Linked DNA regions of Homo sapiens: all the other regions are linked to region 3. Evidence: promoter capture Hi-C in 16 types of primary human blood cells and fetal thymus (Javierre and others, 2016). All regions are on one chromosome and are shown on one strand. The core of a region is centred on a gene start or on the middle of the fragment in contact, and the rest is flanking DNA. Distances in the headings are between cores, read along the strand shown. Region 1 overlaps ANXA1 (annexin A1). Region 2 overlaps KLF9-DT (KLF9 divergent transcript). Region 3 holds the start of ABHD17B (abhydrolase domain containing 17B, depalmitoylase). Region 4 holds the start of ALDH1A1 (aldehyde dehydrogenase 1 family member A1).

Region 1 (2,957 bases), core at 1-2,500, 1.3 Mb before region 3:
TTTCTAGAAGGAGCTCAGATACAAGATTTTACTTGCGATGGTTTTAGATGTTCTTCCCCTCCAAACCTCATGTTGAAATTTGATCCCCAGTGTTAAAGGTGGGGCCTAGAGGGAGGTATTTGGGTCCTGGGGCTGATCTCTCATGAAGAGATTAATGCCGTCACTGGGAATGAGTTCTTGCTCATGAGAACCACGAGAGCTGGTTGTTAACGAGGCTGGCACCTCCCCATTCTCTCTCTTGCTTCCTTTCTTGCCATGTGGTCTCTGCACACACCAGCTCCCTTTCCTCTTCTGTCAGGAGTGGAAGCAGCCTGAGGCTCTCACCAGACATAGATACCCAAACTTGAATTTGTTAGCCATCAGAATCCTGAGCCAAATAAACCTTTTTATCTTTAAAAATTACCTAGCCTCAGATATTCCCTTATAGCAACACAAAATGGACTAAGAAATTAGTCTTTATAAAACAAGAGGCATTTCCTAAAGTATCTGAGTTGTACCTTAGCAAGAGAAAGCAAAGCGTTCCGAAAATCTCCAGATGTGTCTGAGGTTATGTCTTTGGCCAGATCTCTCTTCAGTTCTGAGAAAAAAGAAAAATAGATTTTATAGTAAACCAGTGATGAATAATAATAAGAATATCTGACATCTCTAAGTTGGTTGAAAATTCACAGTGCCACAGTGTTCAATGACTTATGGAACATGTTGCAAAATATTATCATTTTTAAATAAGAAGAGAAAAATTAAAGCAGGTAAATTTTTGGATCATTGAATTTATTTCATATGAAGCAATGGGAGCAATTTAGATAATACTGTGATTGAAAACTCACAGTCATAAAGCTTTCGTTAAGAATAAATTGTATAGGTATACATTAGTAATTAATTCTGAAATACAACATGGCAGAATTTAAGCAATAGAATGAATAAAATAATTGTTTAAAAGAACAAAATGAGGTACTTGCTTGAATGCAAATTATTTATTTAGTTTAAAAACTATAAATGTCTTATAAGTAATGCAGTTTGATGATTTATGTGTGTGTAAACACTTCTGCTTAACTACATAAAATAATACTGTAATAGGAAAAAATAATTGAATTTATAATTGACTAGTGCTATGGTTTTCATATTGTTTGTTTGGCCCTGCCAAGTCTCATGTTGCAATTTATTCTCCACTGTTGAAGGTGGGGCCTGTTGGGAGATGTTTGGATGATGGGGGCAGATCCCTCATGAATGGCTCGGAGTGAGTTCTCATTCATAGTTTCTTTAAGAACTGGCTGTTGAAAAGAGCCTGGCACCTCCTTTTCTCTCTCTCCCTCTCTGCACACATCTGCTTCTGTCTGCTTTCTGCCATGAGTAGAAGTAGTATGAGGCCCTCATCAAAAGCAGACGCTGGTCCCATACTACTTGTACAGTATTTCCTTTCTTTTTACATTACTTGGTCTCAGATATTTCTTTATAGCAACACAAACGGACTAAAACAACTTGAAACTGGGCAATGTAATAAACTATCACTGGCCTATATCTTGGCCATATGAAAAATATATAAACACTTATTTTTATAAACTATGTTTTATCAAACAAAAATAATCATCATTATTACCACTGACACATGGATCTAACATAAACATTGGTAATTAAATAAGAATTGCAGAAAATGAGGTTTAAAAGCTTCCTTATTTTTATTCTTTTATTAAATTCCTCTGAAAATGATATGCAAAAGCTATTGTATTCTCCATGCTTGGTATGAGAATCAAGCAGAAAGATCTTCTATATGCCATATATTGCATTGGGAAAGCCAAAAAGCCAGCAGCTCAGGGAAATGAGAGTAGGAAAATGGTAAGAGACTTGCAATTACCCTCTTTTCAGTGTTGAGCACATCATTTAAATGAGATGCTTCACTGGAGAGATAAAATAAGCTAAGACTAGTCTTTTATTCTGTGAATTTAACTAGAGATAAAGTGAGTCTCTTATGTTCATAACGATAAAGTTAAGGTTTCCAACAGAGAATTATAAGCACCTAATTCTTTACTTTTTCAAGGACAAATGAAAAACATTTTGTTAGGAGATTTTTTTGTTATTATATATTCTTTTCAAAAAAAATGACCTTGGGACATTTTTATAAAATACATTCCAGAATAATAGAAAAGTGTTTTTCAGAAATTTTTAAAAATTCAATGCTCTGAATTGAGGTTTCCATTATAATCGTATGTGGCCATTTATCCTAGAGGAACATTTTCTATTAAAACGCAAGCTTGATGCGGATTGGGACACCATCTCCCTTGTCAGCAACCTAGCAACTCAAGCGTTGCCTGGTAACAGCATTTAATAGACATGTGCCAAACAATAAAGAAACATTTTGATATGTGGAGATTCCAAAGCTGCCATAATTACCATAGACAGTCAATTTTAAGAAAGTATATTAGATTTCCTTTTCAAATAAGGCGTTTGGACTGTTGGACATTACAACTTACCCTCTCTGTAGACCCTGTTAATGTCTCTGATTTCTTTGTTAGTTCTTGATGCCAAAATCTCAATTAGAGTATCTTCATCAGTTCCAAGGCCCTAAATTTGAAGAGAAGAAAAGGATAAATGTAGAAAAAAATCTTCATGCAAGAGGATCAATGAGTTTTTGGTGTTCCAAAATTTGTTTGACTCTGTCATTTAGTAAATTTCACCCACAACATTTAATAATTACAATAAGCTCTATTACATTGCCCTAAAACAAAACAAGTTTATCATCAATATTTTGGGTAAAAATAAAAATGCAAATATATGACTCATATAGTGACATGACATGGAAGGTGTTAGTGCCAACATTTCTGTTTTCATTTATATATTAATTCCTTCATTGAGGTATTAATTTATTTATTCTTCAAACTCCCACTGATTGACAGGTACTATACTAGATTTTGAAAATAACATAAGCATAAGTGACTTGCCCAATACATCCTCTTGAGGAAAGG
Region 2 (2,926 bases), core at 40-2,539, 1.5 Mb after region 3:
TGAATGATTTAGAACAGAGCAACAACTTGATAAGCAGGAGATGGGGTAATTTTAGAAACAGTCATTAAATAGCCTAGAGGGGAAGGGAACCTGGTGCCACATGGAAGGATTTGCCTTAGACAGGAGCAGGAACAGTATATCAGGTGACAAGAGAGAAGGCAGCGTCTGGGTGGAAAGGTAGGCAGGATGGAAGATATGATGGTGGGAAGAGGAGGTAGTTCTTGTCAAATTGCTTTTATTTTCTCAGTAAAATAAGCAGCAAGTTTCTCAGCTCAGAGTGAGGAAGGGAGGGGTGTTGGAAGTTTGAAGAGAGAAGGTGCAATATAGTCATTTCAGCGTGTGGGAAAGTAAACTGACGAGGGAAATGCACACGGACAGTGTTGAGAGCCCACTTGAGATGTATGATCATAAATTTAGAGTGACAACAGTTAGCCCTGTCATTTTTGTCCAGTGTGTTAAGCTGGACAGAATCAAGAGTTTGGCCAGATGGTCCCAGGAATGAGAGAGTAGGGGGAGGTGCATGCGAAAGAATGATATAGTGGAAGACCATGAAATCTTAAGGTGGGTAGGAGAGATGTAAGAATGAAAGGTCAATGACAGACAGTGAAAAAGTAGACTGGAAGTCAAAATAGGGTCAAAGAATTGTTCAAATGTGGTTATTTGAGCAAATAAGCTGGGAGAGAAAGAAGTGTTGGTCAGGAAGGAGGATGATGGTCGGAGGTGGTGCTGTTATTTGGTGATGAAAAGATTGAAGATACCCATGTGACAGTGGGGTGGAGGAAAAAAATGATTGCTGTTCAGGTACCAGGGTTTCAGATAGGTCATTAATCTATTGGGATGCTAAATTCACCAAAAATGTTAATAGGAGTTGGGTGGAGGTGGGGGACTGTGAGTCAGGTGCTAGAATCTTCGGGGAATGAGGGGGAGTGCAGGAGAGCCTGCAGATGACAGCCACAAAGCGGAGGTGGTATAGTCTGATGGCAGGTACTTCAAAGCAGCTGGGGTGGAGGGGGAAGAAAGAAGAGTCTATCTTGGTGAATAATTCTCCTGCCAAGGGTTTGTTCTGAATTCCACTCTCTAGTATCTCACCAAGCTTCCTTCCCTCTTTTGGCAGCTGAGAGGCCATCCAGGGTAAGGATTTTTTCAGGGTCGTGGGGTCAGAAGGAAACCAGCAAACAGTCAGGACTTTTATTCCCTCTTCTCTGCTACCAAAATACCAAGGCAGTGTTTTGGGTATTTAAAAGAACATTTTAAATGTCCTTGTTTGTTTCTGCCTCTGTGCAACATTGTGCTGGGAAGGACAGGGAGCTGGTAACCATGGCAGTGGAGCAGAGGGTGGTGGTGAAGAGGTGGTTTTTAAATGGGGTGAACTTCAGGCAGGCGGCACCCAGAGCTGGAACCCCCACGGCCTCCTTGGAGTCCTTTGTTCATTCAGCTTACTTAGGGAGAGAGCCTGCATTCTTCCCCGCTGTGAAGCAAGCTTTGAAAGGAAAGGTTTTGCCAGACTCCATAAGGAGAGGGTGTGTCCCTAGGAGCAGGTTTTGGGGTTCTGCCTGAAAACCTTGGTCGGCAGAGAATTTTGGGCACCCTGTTACGAACAGGACAGTCTGTGATGGCAAAGAAGCCAGCTCTGCAGCATCCTGGATGCAGAGTTCTTACACACCGTTAGCTGTCTCACCACTTCTCCCTGGACAGGTGGCCACTCGTGGGGGTGGCCCAGAATCCTGGCCAAAAAAGACAGCCAGGCAGGGCCCCCACAGGAAGGTAGCTGGCAGGGGAGTCAGGAGGAGAGGAAGGGGGAGGGAAGCAGTCACCTCTTCCACGTTCCTGGATAGGGAGCCTTAAGACCCTTTTCAGGACAAATAAGTGCCCCCCAAAAAGCGGACACAGGGCAAGGCAGGACAGGACAGGGCAAACCTGGGGCACAGCTCGGGGCCAGGGAAGTCCCATGACTGCAGTGTTCAGCTGCAGGTTTCCCAGCTGCTCTGGGCGGGAAGCGGCGCCGGGAGATGGGGGCGGGGAGAAGGGAGGGGAAAAGAGGAGGAGGGAAGTAAACAGGAGACCACAGAGAGAGCCAGTTCCCGGCGTTCAGAGAACACTAGCCGCCTCCGGTCCCCGGTGGGTGGCTGTATGTGTGGAAATGAAACTGGGAGGAGGAGGGAGAGAGGGAAGAGCGGGCACGCACTTCTCGGCTGTCATCCACCTTGCCTCTTCCGACCCTCCAGCCCGCTCCCCACCGGGGTAGGGGGTTGGGGGAGGTGGGAGGAAAACAGTTCAGCAAACGCCCACCTCCAAGTACCAGTAGCTGGTTCAGCTGTCGGTGAATCAGACACTGTCTCAGCAGCTTGTCACCTGCGCTTGGGAGGGGAACAGAGGGCAACCTTGGAACTTGGGAGGGGGAGGTTGGGAAAGTGCAGGATCCAGCACTGGGCCTGGGCCTGGGCGTAGGGGTGACGCCTACGGCTCGGAAAAGGGCTATCCACCTCCCTACACCTACACACGTCTCGACCCAGTACCCGGACGCCGAGTAGAGGGGGTGGGACAAGAGCATGGGGGCCGTACAGAAGGGGGAACTGGAAGAAGGGGAGGGGAGAATGGGTTGGGGGTGTGCTGCGGCGGGAAGCGCTGGGTGCCGGGCGGGCGCGGCCGCGGGGAGAGCTGCTGCCCGGTGCCTGCCCGCGCGAGGTTATGCGAGGTAACCGAGCGGAGAGGAGGAGGGAGGCGGCGGGGGCCGCGGGCCGGGGTGTCTGGCACTCGTTGGACAAAGAGATGATGAAACGTGAGCGCTATATTTACCAAGGGGGTGGAGACGGGGCGGGGGGGGCGGAGAGTAAAAAGGACAAACTGTTCCACAACAACCACAGGAAACACAGCCCATTCTGACTCACTGGGAGGGCCACACCGAACCCCTCGCAGGCTTAGCCTG
Region 3 (2,700 bases), core at 13-2,512:
AGTACTTATATACAACCCAAGTCCTCTGGCTATCTAGACAGTCTGAATTTTTTAGCAGGACTTTACAGAAGTCCTGCTAAAGATAAACAGCAAAACAAGTATTTTTACATTAACCAAATATTTTTATCTTCAAAACAATTGTTACAAAACAGAAATTTCACACAATACTAGTGAGGACAGCCTAAGACAGCTTAATCATTCACATTTCCTCTATGGGCTTGGGGTTTTTGGAAAAAAAAATCGTAGCTGCATAAACTTGGTGTAAAATTTGAAAAAGCCACTCATGCCACAATCCTCGTTTCCCTCTGCTAATGTGATCCAGATGGGAACGCTGAACGACGTAACTGCCCCATCTGCACCTTAGATTTCATTAGGGTCCTGTTCACTCTGTGCAATTAGTTAAGTGTGCTGACCATCAAATATTTACCAGGAGACAACATGTCCAGGTCAAAGAAAGGGCGTGAGAATAACATTTTAGAAAGAGTTGCACTGCAGCCAAGACTAACTCTGGGCTGCGGTCCACACTCGCCCCAGCCGACTCCTCTCATTTCCTCTCTCCCCTCTCCAGTGAGCCATTCCTTCCTGGAGTCAAAGACGGTGCAACAGGCAGGTTCCTACCTTGGTCTGCACACTTTTATCGAACTTGTCATTTTTGAAGCTAAACGTATTCTGGTGCTTCTGAGGTCTGGAACGAGCCACGTTGCCTTTCTGGGAGCTCATCGCCGAAATCAAAGCCACCCCTCGCCGGGAGCAGGCAAAAGGATGAGGGGAAAGAAAACCAACGAACTACTCCCAGGAATTGACGCTTCTGTCAATGACCCGGAAGAAACAAACGCAGCCTTTCCGCCCCGGCTCTGGGTCAGCCCACGTGACTCTTCTGGGAGGTCAAAGAGCATCGCTCTGCCCTCCCTGCTGTTAAGCCAAGCCACTCCACGCGGCGCAGCCTCGACCCCTCCGGCTCCGCGCAGCCTCTTTCTCAAACCCGGAGAACAAGTCCCACTTTCTTCGAAATGAGAATTCCCCCATTGGCCCGAATGTGTAGTCCATCAAATCAAAGGGGCGGGGAACCTTTGTTCCTATTGGTTCTTCTTTTCCGCAATCCCCGCCTCCTGCTGAGCGAGCTCAGCCTCTCCTTGAGCTCAGAGCGCCTCCCACCCTGCCGGGCGGCCTCTGATTGGTGGAAGTGAGGCAAGGCTGGGCTCCGTCTCTCCCCCCGCCCGCTAGTAGGCTGGAGCCGGGGTCAGCTTTGGCACCTTCCTCCAGTCAGTGGCCAACTCCTGGCTCAGTGGGGATTGTGCTCGTCCCCTCCGTTCCCCTCCAGTCTTCCTCCCGCTACCGGAACGAGCCTCGCGCTTGGCAGGCTGAGGAGGAGCAAAGAAAGCAGGATTAAAGAGAAGGAAGACCTGGCTAGGTCTGGGTGGCGTCTGCAGTGCCAGAAAGGGAGGCGGTGGCGGCGGCGGCTGCGACCACGGCCGCGCGGGACGTGAGGCCCGAGAGCAACCGACGGGCAGCGGCGGCCGCTCCAGCGCCCCGCACCGGGGCCGTTAGTCAGCAGAACGCGAGCTCTTGTGGAGGAGCAGGGCCGGCGCGAGGCGAGACTCGGGAGCGTGAGCGGGGCCCCTGGGGCGCCGCCGTCCTTCTTCGCCCCGGCGCCGGGGGCTGTAGCCCTGGTCCCCGCTCCTCTGTCGGGCCAGTCTGCAGGCGGAGAGAGTCGGACGGCGCCCGGAGCGCGGATCTCGCCTTGTGGAGGACAGCGCGTCGGCTGCGGTTCTCTCTCGACCCCTTCTGCCCGGCGCTTCGGCCCGGGCCGCTCAGGTGCAGGTGCGTGCGGCCTCGGGGTTTGGGGACGCCGCAGCCCGGCTCGGGGAGGGGGCGCTAGGCCGGGAGCCGCAGCGCGGGAGGGACGAGCCCGGGCCGGCGGGGGGAGGGGAGCGGGAAGCGTCTTTGTTGTTGGCGACCGGGATCCCTTCTCGGCACAGGGGAAAGGCGGGGAAGCCACTCCTCATCGGGTCTGTGTTTTTGAGAGGATTCTCTGATGGTTGCGTGAAGGGGAGCGGTAGGACAGTCCCTGCGGTCCGTGGAGCGGCCGGAGTCAGGGGGTGGGGGAGGGAGGACCGACCGACACTCTAAGAAGGTCTTTGGTCCTCCTCGGTGAAGAGAAGGGTTCCATTTCATTTCCTTTGCTTTTCTCTCAGTGGATGAAAAGATGGGGTCAGGTTCCCATTCCCCTCACTGGCGCACTGAGAGATTCGCGGGTGCCTAAAAGCTTTCTCCTGAATGTCCTTATATCTCTGTCGGGCGCGATTTTAGATTGAATCTGCACGGGGCTTGGCGATTTGTGTATTCCGGTGGGGCTGTCGTAGGGTTCTTTTTCTTTAGATGGTTGGGCTTTAATCTTATTTGTTTTCGAACTCTAAGGTAGGCTTATCAGGAATCGTTTTTGAATTGGAAAATTTAAAGGTTTTGTTTGGGATTTTTTTTAACCCCGAAACAAAGTTATGTCAAATTAGATTGTACTGTGTGGGGGCTCTCGTGAAGGAAAGAGTGTATTTAACCTGGGGTTTTTGTTTAAAAAAAAAAAAAGTTCAGATCTTTGATCTTTGGTGAGATCTCTGCCAATGCCAGAAGAGAATTTTTTGTAAATGATGCTTTAAGTCAGTGTGAAGTAGATTTGGTAAGCAAAAGGATGAATAACGGAAT
Region 4 (2,822 bases), core at 215-2,714, 1.0 Mb before region 3:
AGAGATGAATAAACTATCCTCTTATGTTTCTTGCTTCTCTCTCCATATGTGTGTGTGCCTGTGTGTGTGTGTGTGTGTGATTTAGTTTGTTCATAAGGAGGAAAAAGAAGATGAAACATCATTTGTCGATTACTCTCAAGTTAAAGGGACAGCTCCTCCTCTGCTGCATAGTCCTGGCATACCATAAAAACGTACAATCCTGGGTCCAGTTCTAAAATGTGCAACCTTGGTCCCTAGGTTCTCACAAAAGCCATTATTTCCTCTGTAAGGAATAGAAGTAGTCTGATGAAATCTTTTCCTCATATGCAGCAATTCCCAGAAATATGCTATTCTACAAAATAAGCTCTCAGGGCAGGATGATGTTTACCTCAAAAATATAGGTCTCAGGCCCTGTGGTTTCTAGGCAGAAAAGATCTGCTTAAGTGAGGTTAGGGCTAAAGAATTATGGATGCATAAATGATACTTAGTAAATATTTGCTGAAATTAAATGGGCAGGTGTGGTAACCTGTCTCCAAAGCAACTCCTTTTGCCTACATTCAGGAATGCCTGGTATAAAGGGACTGTTCTTACATAATTATCCAATAAAATACAATTGAGAATGATCATATAAGAAGTGAGATGACAAGCCAAGTATGTTATGAAGCCTTGAGCTTTCATCGCCTGGACATCAAATAAACCAGTATTTGAATCCACAAACAACTGTGACTCTGGGAGAAGAAAGCAGCAAAACACAGCTGTTTGGGCATGGCCAGAGCGCCACTCTCAAGTTATGTAACAGCTGTTGTGTAATTGTGCATTTAACTCAAAACACATTTTTGAGAGAGAAAACAATTAGACTTTCCAAAAAGAAAGAAACAGAGAAATGTTGAAAGAACACAGAAGTTTCTATCTGGTCATCAAACATAAGACACGGGGGAGTCAAAGGCATTGGGAATGATATTGCCTTAGAATCTAGGGAGTTGGCCCGTGCACCAAATCTGGCCTGCCTTCTGTCTTTTTAAATAAAGTTCTATAGGAAAACAACTACACCCATTAATTTACCTATCATCTACAGTTTCTTTTAAATAGAGTCAAGTAAATTATATCAGAAACCATCCAGCCCAGAGGCTGAAAATATTTACAGAAAAAGTTTTGCAAATTCTTGTCTTAGATGAATAAAAAGTTATGTTTAAATGCCTGTAAGGGTGACTATTCACTGAGAAAACCAAAGCAGTTGATGCTTGAACCCATGTAGGAGTTCTCTTGTGGAGAATAGGGTAGAAATAGTAAACAGAAATAAGAGTCCAGGTTTGGGAGTCAGACTGGCCTGAAATGAAATTCTGGTCCTGCACTAATAGATCTGTGACCATAAGTAAGCTACTCACCCTCTGTATGTCTCTAAAATGGGGATATGAAATGAGGGTAGAAAGGGAAACAAGTGCTGCACCTGATTTGGGCAAACAATTCAGAAATTTTTAGTTTCCCTATGTAAGTCCCATATTCAGGGGAATTGGCAAGTTTCACTAGAAAAAAAAAAATTGGTTGATTCTCCACAATCAGAGCATCCAGAGTATTTTATCTTGTTCCTATTGTAACGTTTGCTAGAGCTACAATACAATAAAGTATTGTACTTAAAATGGGAGTAACACTGTTTAAAAAATTGTCCTTCAGCTAAATATTAATTTAAGAACTTGAATTGTTTGGAAGCCCTGCTTAAATTTAGTCTTTGTACACTGCCTATGTTGATAAATACAGACAACTTCCAAAACCAGGATTACTTTCATTTTAAATGAGTATTAATAGATGATATTGCCATATTTCTAATTGTGGTGATTGTGTGTGACAGTGTGTTCCGAATTCCCTAAAAGTCCTGCTGGCTTTTCTGTTCACATATAGAAAATAAAGATAATTTAGGGCTTCTGAGATCACAGTAGGTCTACTTACCCAGCACTGAAAATACACAAGACTGATACGATATTTTAAAACTAACTTAGGGTAGGGTGTAGATAAAGGGCCTTTCTTCCCCAAACAGCACCTTGATTTTCTGGGAGATGGACTGATTTCCTGAAAGCCTTGTCCTGAAGACACCTGGCCAGCTTCTACTGAGAACAAGTGCCCTTTTAGACTCTTTTCAATCCTCAAATTCTCTGATTCCAAGTCTGTCAGAGAACAGAAAGTTACATAGTAGCATTAAAAAGCATGAGAAGTCAAAAAAATAATAACTGGCCTTAGTGGCCAGAGCAGCTGCTGCATACACTTATCACAGGTTTCGGCTTTGTAAATTAATTCATCTGCAAATAGTGCACTGTCTCCAGGTACAAATTCGATGCTGGAGCACTGGTTTCTTAAGGATTTAAGTTTAAAGTCAAAGGCTTCCTGCCCTAGGTGTTACAAATAAGTAGTGTCGTTTTCTTTTTTTGCTCTGAGTTTGTTCATCCAATCGTATCCGAGTATGCAAATAAACTTTAGCCCGTGCAGATAAAAAAGGAACAAATAAAGCCAAGTGCTCTATCAGAACCAAATTGCTGAGCCAGTCACCTGTGTTCCAGGAGCCGAATCAGAAATGTCATCCTCAGGCACGCCAGACTTACCTGTCCTACTCACCGATTTGAAGATTCAATATACTAAGGTGAGTAAAACTTCTATTTTCTGCTTTGACTCGGGTTTGCAAAAACTGCATTTATGTAAAGCATTAAAGGTCAATTTAAGTAAACTTGTGTAAAGAGCCCTTTGCAAATATAAAAATAAAAGGCATGCAAAATGCAGGTCTCAGTTTAGTGTCCTGATCAAATATGATCTAAATCATATCAGACAATCTTTCATAAATTTATTTCTTAAAATAT

What was found. Contacts are between HindIII fragments. The CHiCAGO score rates a contact against its expected background, and 5 or more counts as called.
Region 1: a contact is called between a fragment that was not itself captured here and the fragment with the promoter of ABHD17B in region 3, in 1 of 17 cell types (activated CD4 T cells). The highest score is 5.9, in activated CD4 T cells.
Region 2: a fragment that was not itself captured here is called in contact with the fragment with the promoter of ABHD17B in region 3 in 1 of 17 cell types (total B cells); the score reaches 5.3 in total B cells.
Region 4: a fragment that was not itself captured here is called in contact with the fragment with the promoter of ABHD17B in region 3 in 1 of 17 cell types (M2 macrophages); the score reaches 5.3 in M2 macrophages.

What each region holds. Positions count from the first base shown.
Region 1 is chr9:73,160,402-73,163,358 of GRCh38, reverse strand. ANXA1 (annexin A1) reads right to left here. Exons shown (of 13, transcript NM_000700.3): 6 at 2,466-2,556; 7 at 498-577. Among named protein-coding and RNA genes, the nearest start is that of ANXA1, 10 kb to the right of the region's middle. The HindIII fragment of the contact is 828 bases long and covers 837-1,664 here.
Region 2 is chr9:70,420,050-70,422,975 of GRCh38, reverse strand. All of the region lies in intron 1 of KLF9-DT (KLF9 divergent transcript), which reads right to left. Among named protein-coding and RNA genes, the nearest start is that of KLF9, 6.9 kb to the right of the region's middle. RefSeq lists a silencer at 2,533-2,622. The HindIII fragment of the contact is 387 bases long and covers 1,096-1,482 here.
Region 3 is chr9:71,909,755-71,912,454 of GRCh38, reverse strand. ABHD17B (abhydrolase domain containing 17B, depalmitoylase) reads left to right here and starts at 1,262. Exons shown (of 4, transcript NM_001025780.3): 1 at 1,262-1,821. C9orf85 (chromosome 9 open reading frame 85) reads right to left here and starts at 816. Exons shown (of 4, transcript NM_182505.5): 1 at 619-816. The coding sequence starts at 720. RefSeq lists enhancers at 549-608, 619-668, 739-1,048 and a silencer at 1,499-1,738. The HindIII fragment of the contact is 4,051 bases long and covers 1-2,268 here.
Region 4 is chr9:72,952,721-72,955,542 of GRCh38, reverse strand. It overlaps ALDH1A1 (aldehyde dehydrogenase 1 family member A1), which reads left to right and starts at 2,490. Exons shown (of 13, transcript NM_000689.5): 1 at 2,490-2,608. The coding sequence starts at 2,543. The HindIII fragment of the contact is 2,986 bases long and covers 1-2,822 here.